Linked DNA regions of Homo sapiens: region 2 is linked to region 1. Evidence: promoter capture Hi-C in 16 types of primary human blood cells and fetal thymus (Javierre and others, 2016). All regions are on one chromosome and are shown on one strand. The core of a region is centred on a gene start or on the middle of the fragment in contact, and the rest is flanking DNA. Distances in the headings are between cores, read along the strand shown.

Region 1 (5,304 bases), core at 2,094-4,593:
TAAAGCCCTTCTGACCCTCTCTCTGACCTCTTGGCTTTTCTCCTTACCTTTCAGTACCTCCAAGCTCACAGGAGCTAGAAAACCACCAGGTGATCCATCTCTAAGCTTCCTGAAGCTCTAATAAAACCCAGCATCATTGTAAAGAATCACAGGGAAAGCTTTAGGATATAAGACTGGATGCTTGCTGGACAAGCATCTCGGGCTTCCCAAGACAGGCCCTGAGAAGGTTTATTTTATTTTATTCTAAATAGATACCACGTCTCACTATGCTGGCCAGGCTCATCTCGAACTCTTGACATCCAGCAATCTTCCTGCCTCGGCCTCCCAAAGTGCTGGGATTGCAGGCATGAGCCACTGCACCCGGCCCCTGGAAAGGTTTTACACTGAATCCCTGATGTGCACTTGCTTTCCACAGAAAAAACAACAATAAGCTCTGGTTCATCAAGGCTTTCAGTTAAAATCACACTGCTGAAACTACAGAGACAAAAAACAGATCGGGGGTTGCCACAGGATGAGGTGAAAGGAACTGACTACAGAAGAACAAAAGAACTTTCTGGGTTGGTGGAAAAATTCTCCATCTTGATAGTGATGTGGCTGCTTGTCTGTGTAAGTTTGAGAAGTTCATAGACCTGTAACACCTCAAGTGGTGAAGGTTTACCGTGTGTAAATTAGACCTCAAAAAACTTGACTTAAAATCACATTGCCAAAAGACTACTCAGAGGCACTTTACAGATGGAGGAGGGAAAATGGCTTGCTCCTGCTGCGGCAGCGGACCCCAGGAAGCCTGACTCGAAGGACAGTGTTCCCTCAAGTTCACGGCTGCCCAGCTTTAATTTGGAGCCTCTGCAGTGAGTTAGACTTCAGGTTTTCCTGCCGGCAAAATGAGGTGGTAAACAATTGCCAGAGGCTTCCCCACCACAGACAACGGGATTCTGAAAAGCTGTCCACTATGGGGGAGAAATCTGCTTTGGAGTCAGAAAAACTGGGAAAAATATTCCCACCTCTATCACTTCTTAGCTGTGTGCCCAGGCTCCATCCTGTGTGAGCGGGGGTAAGAATTCCCTCCAGTCAGCAGAGAATGCACCTGTAACCCAGCTGATTCCCAACAGCCTCTCAAGAAGGTCAGCGGCTATAACTTGGAGAGGTGTTTACCACAGCTACACAGCTCTTCTGCTCCCTGGGCCCCGGGCTGCTTCCTAGGAAGGACAATCTGGAGGCAACCATAAGGAAAGAAAATAACGAACTGCCTGGCCCTGCATTGCATAACCCGTGCGCAGTAAACCAGGAGCTCTGCTGGGACACAGTCTGTTATCTCAACAGGTAAACAGGAACCCTGCCCCCTCCCTGACCACCGTCAGCACTGGGCCACCACAGACACTCCAGACACAGACCGATAGCACATGAGGAGGACACCACTGCTCTTTAGCCTGTATTTTCACACTCCCATTTCCCTGCAGCTGCTGGCATCATCACTGGGCACACTCAATAACGGACACTCCACCCACTCCAGCCCTTCCCTGGCTACCTGCTCCAAAAGGGTGGTCCCGAGTGACTCAAAGCTGCCTTCTGCACCTTGCTCTTTTCCATCCACGGAGACCAAAACACAGACCCCAGAAGACGATTAAAATATAATAATAATAAAACCCCTCAGGCAGGAGTTTCTGCTTCCCCGTCACATCTACTGAGAGGCACTGTGGACACATAAAGACTGTTGACTTACTTTTTTCTCCACCTTGGGGCAGGAGGGAGGCAACACCCAGAAATTATCCCAATTTTATAGAAACAAAGACAAAGAGCTACATATCCTAGCCAAAGGCAACAAGGAGCAGGCCTAGAGCCACCCGGAGAGGCAGAGCCCAGCAGCAGCAAGGCTCCAGTGACTCCCATCTCCCTGGCAGAGATCGTCCCAGCCCTGTGCCCTGAGGGTGTCCTGAAGATCATGGGGGCTCGAAACCATGAAAGCAAGCAAAGATTTCTGTACAGTGCGGTTCAGAAAAGTTACTGAGTGCCTTCAGCCCAGGATCTCCTGGTTGATTAGGGAGTACTAACACCTAGGTTAAGAAACTCTGATTTCATTCATCACAAATATTTATCAAACCACTGCCAGGACATTGTGGCAACCACATCCTGCTGTTTTTATTCGGAGCCATTGCCAAAGCTTGGTTCTCTCCCCCACCTTCCGGTATCTGTGAAGTTTTCAGTTTCTATCAAACTCCAGCTGGGGGAGGGAACCGGGGCTGGCCCTAGTCGAGTAAAGTTCCACCACCAGGTCCACAAAGAGACTGCAGGGAGGCGTGGCCAGGCCGGAAATTCTGACAAAAAGTTTTGGCCCTCTGGTCCTAAAAGCAACTACTTCCTGATCGCTCCTAGTCCTGGGGTGGGGATGCAGTTCTCTGGCTGAGTGCCCCGCCGGTGGGCTGAGCTGGGGGCTGCCATCGCGGTGGATGGAGGTGGGGGGTCTGATCTCCGCACTCCAAGGCGCTCCGCTAGTACCTGGAACAGGGGAGTCTAACCCCCTGCCTTCCAATGGCTAAAGTTATTTTGGAGCACAGTCCCCTCCTAGGGTGTGAGCTCCGGAGGGCAGGGCCGCCTCCTCCACACTCCCTCGCCCCCCCCCCCCCCAGCAACCCACGGCCGGCGCTTTGAGGACTTGAACCCGGCCCAGACCCCGGGGCCCAGGCCTGCTCCGACCCGAGGAAGGAAAAAGGGGAAGCCAAAGGAAACTTCAGATGGACGCGGGGTGCGCTCGCCGCGGCCAGGGGCTCCGCTGCCCCCGCCCCACCCTCCGAGGGAGCGCCTTCCAGGGGCCCTGGCCGGCCTCCCACCTTGACCCGCTTGCCCTGGATCTCCAGCGTCTTCATGGTGAAGTCGACGCCGATGGTGCTTCCCTGGCGCTCCGAGAAGGCGCCGGTCTTGAAGCGCTGCACCACGCACGTCTTGCCCACGCTTGCGTCGCCCACCAGCACCAGCTTGAACAGGAAATCGTACTGCTCGTCCGGGTCCCCCGGGCCTGGGCCCGGCCCTGCCATGGCCTAGAAGAAGCCGAAGGGCCGGCGCTCTGGACGCTGGGACCGGCCTGAGCTCACGCAAGCCGCGGGCCGAGCTCCGCCCGCTCCAGCCCACGGGCCGCCTGGCTACGTGGAGCCGCCGCAACACCTGAACCCCCAGCACTGCCGACCGCCTGCCTCGGCCTCGGCCCCGCCCCACCCCGGCTGGCTCCCGCCCCGGCCCGGCTCGGCCCCGCCCGGACCCGGTGCCCCGCGGGTTCGGCTCCCCCCCGGACCCGCCAAGCCGGGCCCTCCGCAAAGCTCCGGCCGGTCCTCAGCTCCGTGCCACACCAGTCTGGCCTGTAGGCCCGCCCCAGCCCGCCCCCGCCCGCCCCCGGCTCCGCCCTCAGGCTGGCACCCACTCCGCCCCCAGCCCAACCCTCGGGCCCACCTCAGCCCGACCCGGGTTCCGCCTACGTCCCCGCCCCCGACTCCGCCCTCAGCTCCGACCTCGACTCCGCCCCCAGGCCCACCTCAGCGCGCCCCGACTCCGACCCGACTCTGCCCTCAGCCCGACCTCGACTCCGCCCACAGGACCACCTCAGCCCGCCCCGACTCCGCCCTCAGCCCGAACTCGACTCCGTCCCCAGCTCCGACCTCGACTCTGCCTTCAGGCCCACCTCAGCCCTCCCCGACTCCGCCTTCAGCCCGACCTCGACTCCGCCCTCAGGCCCACCTCAGCACACCGCCCCGACTCCGCCCACAGGCCCACCTCAGCCCGCCCCGACTCCGCCCTCAGGCTCACCTCAGCTCTGACTCCGCCCCACCCGACTCCGCCCTCAGCCCCGACCCCAGCCCGACCCCGCCCTCAGCACCTCGGCCCCTCCTCCATCAACACCCCGGCGCGCCCACACCGCGGATCCGTCTGGCCCCCAAACCGCTGCCCACCCCGACCCTTCATCAGCTGGGACCCCCAGGTGCTGTCCCGCGCCTCCTGCTCGCCCCCCACCCAGGCCTGGTCCGCCTGCCCGGGATCCCCTACCTGCTGCCTCCCAGACCGCCGGTCAGGGACAGGCGGAGACCATGGCTGGAGCTCCGGGCCTGCAGGCCTAGACTAAGAATGACCCCCTCCGGAATGGATCACGGAGGAAGGGGACGACCACAGCAGTGTCACCTGAGTGCCCACTCTGACAGGCGGGCAGTGCAGTCTCCGAGAGTGGTGGGGGTCGCTCTTCCCAGGGGCGGAAGGGAAGGGAGGGAGCAGGCTGCAGAAGGCCAGAATCCAGGCTGGCTACAAAACTGCGGAGGAGCCCAAAATCCTTGTGAGGAGAGGACCCAGGGCCCCATTTGATGGGAAGCTAGGCCAGAAGGAGGAGCTGGGAGCTCTTGTCTCCAAAAGGCAGCCTAGCAGTGGTTGAAGCAGCTGCTAAACGGCTGGATGACCCAGCTCAGAGCAGCTACAGGCCCATTTGGGAAACTGACCCAGCCAAAAAGCACCAGTCTAGGAAGAGGAACAGAAAAACTTGAAGGGATTTCTGAGGAAGGGCAGACCAACTCCTGAGTTGGCCCAGTGAACCAGGGCGCCTCAGAGAAAGGAGACCCAAACATCTGTAAGAAGCTTATACTAGATCCAACAGGACTGGGCTTCCCAGCTCCGAAGATGGGAAGGAATTGACAGCACCCCTTACCCCTCTAGACAGCTTCCTTGTGGCACTCCAATTCCAGGTATTCAACATATTTAATGAATGGCTACTACAGGCGGGCATTGTCCTGGGGCCTTGTAATGCACCTGTGGACAAAGCAGACAAAAATCCAGGAGAAAAGGGGAAAGTCTTCAAGCTGAAGGAGACTTCGCAGAGAGCAAGTCCCCCAGTGCCACTGTGAGGACCCCAGCCAACCTTTCAGGTCAAGATAGAAAGGGACTGAATGAGCAGTCTGCAAAGGCAGACCCCGTGGAGAAGGCAGAAGAGTTGTTTCTTCTGAAAGTTTGAACTCCACTCCCATGGGAAATACCCAACAGAATCAGACAGGAAACCCCAAAGTGCCACTGAAAAGCAATTGAGAGCCCCACTTTGGTACACCTGATGGGAGCGGAGAGTTAGAGAGGCAGGAAATAACCTCCACTCCAGGGTAGAAGTAGACAGGAGATGGGATGGAAGGTTTCTGCATGCTGGGACTAGCTCAGGTCAAAGTCCAGAACTCCAGAAAACAAGGCCTGCCCCCAGCTCAGAGCAGCTACCACAGCACAAAATGGTGTGGAATCCAGGAGCCAGGATGAAGCGTAGGGGTAGACGGTGGTTGGATAGCTAACTGGCCT
Region 2 (5,304 bases), core at 1-2,500, 1.0 Mb before region 1:
CTGGCCCATTTTCACTTCCCTGAGGAAATAATGGCGGGAGACCCCTGGCGCGCGCATCCCGCCCCGAGCCACCGACTTCAGCAGCTCTCTCGCCGCAGCAGCCCTGCTTGCAGCCCCCAACTCCCTGGTCCACTGGCCACACCTCTCGCGCGTTCTCCTGGCCCACAAGCCCTGAGGCCGCCTGCTTGGCCAAGCCGCTCTCGTCCAGCCCCAGCCCTTTCACGTGGCTGTGGGAGGCGATGCGCTGCGTCTTCGTAGTGCTCTTCACCTCCTCAATCTTCATTTTGCAGACGCCGGGAGCTAAAACCAGCGTGGAAAACCAGCAGCTAGGACAGTGCGCCCGGCGCCTGAGTTACCATGCGGCCGTTACTAGGGCAATTTGCAAAGGCCCGCCTAGACCGGCTTTCCATTGGTGGAAGCGGGAACACCTCCGCTCTCCATAGGCTCACGGCTGCGCCCATCGCGGCTGCTGCTAGAGCTCCGGTCACCCACTTCCGTCTGTGTCTCCGGGTTGGCTTCCCCCGTAGCCGGCGCTTCCTGCCGAGGCTGGGGTCGGGAGCACAGTGGGACCACGCCCCGGATTTGATCTAGGGCTGGGGCGTTGCACGAGGCAGTGGCCCCCGGGTACCACTCCTAATCCTTCCGTCCTATCCATTAGCACATTTGAACGTCATACTCTTACGCAAATCTCAAGTTATTATTTCCGTTTTGGAAACAGAAGAACTGAGGTTCAGAGCTTAAACTGGGATTGGTTACTAACCAATGTTTTCTGACTCCCATACCTTTGCATCTCCCTGGAAAGGCCCAGCTCAACCCACCACCGTTTCCGTGGAATTGTCTTCCCCTGCTTCTATCCTCCATCCTCCACCGAGAGATAAGGTTCCTGCTGAGTTCAGTTGACTGTAAATAACATTTTGCAGTTTTCAAAATTCCACAGCCCTGTAAGGTAGTGTAATTACGCATGCAGCTACAAACAAGCGGAAAGAGGCCCATCCGCCCAAGAAAGCATCACAAATAATCAGAACTAGAAATCTTCAGGCTTCAAAACCTATATAATAATGCTCATCACGTCCCATGACTCCAGCTGAGACAATCAGCCAGCAAATTGTCCCTTCAGGTTTCATAATGATATTAGCACAACCTGCACCACAATTGTACTTGCCATCCATCCATCCATCCGTTCAACAAACACGAGCCAGACACCACAATGCACTGGGGATACAGGGATAAAAGTCTTGATGCGTTTACTTCTTGCTTAGAAAACTTGCAACGTGAGATGTGCTGAGACAGGTACACCCAGGTGGCGAGAAGACCAGAGCAGAAGCCCCCGGAACAGCCTGGAGAGCCAGGGAAGGCATCATGAAGGTGATGTTGCCTTGGCTGAATTCCAACAAATAGGAGAGATTTCCTCAGAAGCAAATGGTATGACACCATTTTTACAGAAGAGGATACTAACATCCAGAGGAAGGGAAGGACTTGCCCAGAGTGCAGGAGAGTTTATGTTAGAATTGAGACAGACCTGAAATCAAATCCAATTACAGTAGTTCCACAGTCTCACACCGCCTTTTTTTTTTTTTTTTTTTTTTTTTTTGAGACGGAGTCTTGCTTTGTGGCCCAGGCGGGAGTGCAGTGGCGCAATCTCGGCTCACTGCAAGCTCCGCCTCCCGGGTTCACGCCATTCTCCTGCCTCAGCCTCCCGAGTAGCTGGGACTACAGGCGCCCACCATCACGCCCGGCTAATTTTTTTGTATTTTTAGTAGAGACGGGGTTTCACCGTGTTAGCCAGAATGGTCTCAATCTCCTGACCTCGTGATCCGCCCGCCTCGGCCTCCCAAAGTGCTGGGATTACAAGCGTGAGCCACCGCGCCCGGCCTCTCACACCTCCTTGTACATCTTGATTCTAACATTTGAATCTAGGTTTCTATATACTTTTTTCTTTTCTTTTGAATCTAGGTTTCTAATGATTTGCATAATTACTGGGTCAATGTTTTTCTCTCCCAGTAAACTGCAGGCCTTTTGAGGGTGTAGACCACATTTGATTGTTTACCATTTTAACCTAAGTGCCTGGCACACAGCCTACAACACAGCTCACAATTAAGGCTTCTCATGAATTCAATTAAGGTTCTAGACCACACACAAACACATACACTTGAATTCATCAGTTTTGCTGCATGTATTTTACACGTTGGCTTTTATAGGACTTGGTAATGATTTCCATCAGTGAATGGAATCTTTTGGCATTTTCAGGGCCTAAAAGAACAGAGGCCAGGCCTTGGAAGGCTGAGGTTGTTACTAGGGCATGTGGTTCATCAGCACTAGAGACAGCACCCCACAAAGTTGCTTAGCCCCTCATTGACTTGTTCCTGGTCATTACTCTTAGAAAAGAAGCAATTCCTTTCTCTATATGGAGAAGGAAACTTTTCCACCAACTAGTAGTCAAAGTGAGGCATTCTATGGGACTGACTTCTTTGTGTATTGTCCAATTAAGGAAAAAGACTTTTTTTACACTTATTATTTCAGCCCTAGTCTTTGTATCTTTTGGCACAGAAAGAAGGATTTCCTTCTAGTCCAAAAAGAGAAAGGGAGAATCAGGATTTTAGAGCACAGAGGAATATCCCCTGGATTACTTGGTCTAGTGGTTTTCAAACCACATTCCCAGCAGTTGTGGAATCCTTTTGTGGCCAGTACGGGTGGGGACAGGGAATGCTGAGAGTGTAGGATACCAGCTCCATGCCCCCACTTCCACCAGAGTTGTTCCTTTGTGTGTGTGTGTGTGTGTGTGTGTGTGTGTGTGCTAAATAACAGTTCAAACATCACTGATGGGCCAGGGGCGGTGGTACACGCCTGTAATCCCAGCACTCTGGGAGGCCGAGGCAGGTGGATCACCTGAGGTCAGGAGTTCGAAACCAGCCCGGCCAATATGGCAAAACCCCATCTCTACTAAAAATACAAAAATTACCTGGGCGTGATGGCAGGCGCCTGTAACCCCAGCTACTCAGGAGGCTGAGGCACGAGAATCGCTTGAACTCAGGAGGTGGAGGTTGCAGTGAGCCGAGATCGTGCCATTGCACTCCAACCTGGGCAACAGAGCAAGACTCATCTCAAAAAAAAAAAAAAAGGTCATTGATCTGGCCTAGCATTCTCATTTTACATGTGACGGAACTGAGGCCCCAGGAAGGGACAGGGTTTGTCCAAGGTCACAAATTGAGCAAATGCCTGACACAGATCCAGTGTGTAAAGATGCTGGACCTGGCTGCAAAGTCAGACAATTTCTTTCATTTCAACAGAAAACAATGTGGCAGGCCAGTATCCAAGCTACACAAGTCCAATAAACAGCAAGTGAGGCCTGCTGCAGTGGACAGGGTTATTCCTGACCAGCGTCCATCCCACTTCTGCGCACCACCACTCTCGTTTTCCTTCAGGAAATGACCGTTCTCCCACTTTGAGTCTGCGTAGTTTGGGCGAACTGACCCCACACCCCATGTTTGTTTCAGTGGTAAACACGTGGCCCTGGCCTGACCTATCAGTATCCCATCCTCTCAGACACTGTAATTGGCTCAGAAATGTGAGCAGCTAGTTCAATGACAGTCAGTCCTGGCAATTTACTGGACATATCAGGAGAGAAAATGTAGGTAATGGATCTGCAGGCTGGTCTTCTTTGTTACTTCATGGGGAGACTCTACCTGAGAATGAAGCCAAGACAGAGGAAAGGAAAGCTGACAGAAAGAGATTCCCGATGAAATCCTTTATATCCCTGCATCATCCTCGCCTTACTTGCAGTGTAACATGGCATTTACTTTGGGGCTTAAGATGTTTGAGTTAGATTTCTATCTGTGGGTACTGAAAATCCATATCAATGTAGTGACACATATGTAAGTAATTGTGTGGACTACTACATTCCAGAATTGTGCTGTGACAGCCCTAGACCTGCCAGCTCTCATTCCCTCACTCCCACGACCCTCTCATTCCCTTACTCCCACGACCTTTGCTCTTTCACCTCCAGGCCTTTGACCTCTCTTTCTCCAGCCCAAGCTTGATTATCTCAATCACTTGTTTCCTGACCCTTCTGCTCCCTCCTTACCTTGACTTCTATCACACCTGAACTTTGAACCCACAAGCCCAGGTCAAGCCTCCCTCTGCCTTCTTCACTGCCTCCTGAGGGCTACTGTGTGTGGCAGGATGCAACTACCCAGTGGTGCCCTGTAACCACTGCACAGTCATGGTCTCCAGCCTCAACTGGAGCAACCCAAGTAATGATTAAATGTTGTTATTTGGCCAGGTGCAGTGGCTCACGCCTGTAATCCCAACACTTTGGGAGGCCGAGGTGGGCAGATCACTTGAGGTCAGGAGTTCGAGACCAGCCTGGCCAACATGGTGAAACCCCATCTCTACTAAAAATACAAAAATTAGCCAGGCATGGCAGCACACACCTGTAGTCCCAGCTACTCGGGAGGCTGAGGCAGAAGAATTGCTTGAACCCAGAAGGCAGAGGTTGCAGTGAGCCGAGATTGCGCCACTGCACTCCAGCCTGGGCGACAGAGTGAGACCCTGTCTCAAAAATAATAAATACATACATACATACATACATACATACATACATACATACATACATAAATACATAAACGTTGTGTTAGTTTTTTGGGGGGCTTCAAGTGATCCTCCCATCTCAGCCTCCCGAGTAGCTGGGCATGCGCCACCACACCCAGCTAATTTTTTCTATTTTTTTGTAAAGACAGGGGTCTTGCTGTGTTGGCTAAGCTGGTCTTGAATTCCTGAACTCAAGCAATCCTCCTGCCTTGACCTCCCAAAATGCTGGGATTACAGGCATTAGCCATAGCACCCAGCAGTAAATGTTACATTAGTTAAAAGATTAGTTCAGCTGCAGTAACAGAGAGATCTAAAATAACAGTGGATCAAACAAGAGAGAAGTCACTTTATCTCACAGAAAGTCCAAGCAGGCATGCCAGGAGGTGGGCTGGCTTTACAATCAGTAAGGGCCTATGGTCCTTCTATGATGTGGCTCTGCCACTCCCCACACACATTGTCTATCGTGTGGTCCAAGATAGCTGCTCAAACTCCTCCCAAAAGGGCTGAATTTGCACCAACTAGAAGGAAAAAAGGGGAAGAAGAGGACATACTTCTTCCCTTTAACCTTGATATTGAAGTTGCACCATCATTTCTACTCATATCCCAGGGGCCAGCACTTAATCAAATAGCTAGAACTAGCTGCAAAGGAGGCTGAGAAATGTAGTCTTACACTGGATGGATATGTGCCCAGTTAAAAATTCAATTCCTATGTAAAGA

Evidence for each region. Contacts are between HindIII fragments. The CHiCAGO score rates a contact against its expected background, and 5 or more counts as called.
Region 2: a contact is called between a fragment that was not itself captured here and the fragment with the promoter of RAB43 in region 1, in 1 of 17 cell types (total CD8 T cells). The highest score is 6.3, in total CD8 T cells.

What each region holds. Positions count from the first base shown.
Region 1 is chr3:129,118,461-129,123,764 of GRCh38, forward strand. It overlaps RAB43 (RAB43, member RAS oncogene family), which reads right to left and starts at 3,344. Exons shown (of 3, transcript NM_198490.3): 1 at 2,826-3,344. The coding sequence starts at 3,029. All of the region lies in intron 11 of ISY1-RAB43 (ISY1-RAB43 readthrough), which reads right to left. RefSeq lists an enhancer at 1,428-2,373 and silencers at 3,154-3,333, 3,354-3,573. The HindIII fragment of the contact is 2,447 bases long and covers 2,157-4,603 here.
Region 2 is chr3:128,123,442-128,128,745 of GRCh38, forward strand. It overlaps RUVBL1 (RuvB like AAA ATPase 1), which reads right to left and starts at 371. Exons shown (of 11, transcript NM_003707.3): 1 at 143-371. The coding sequence starts at 283. RefSeq lists an enhancer at 123-172 and a silencer at 363-422. The HindIII fragment of the contact is 5,560 bases long and covers 1-4,030 here.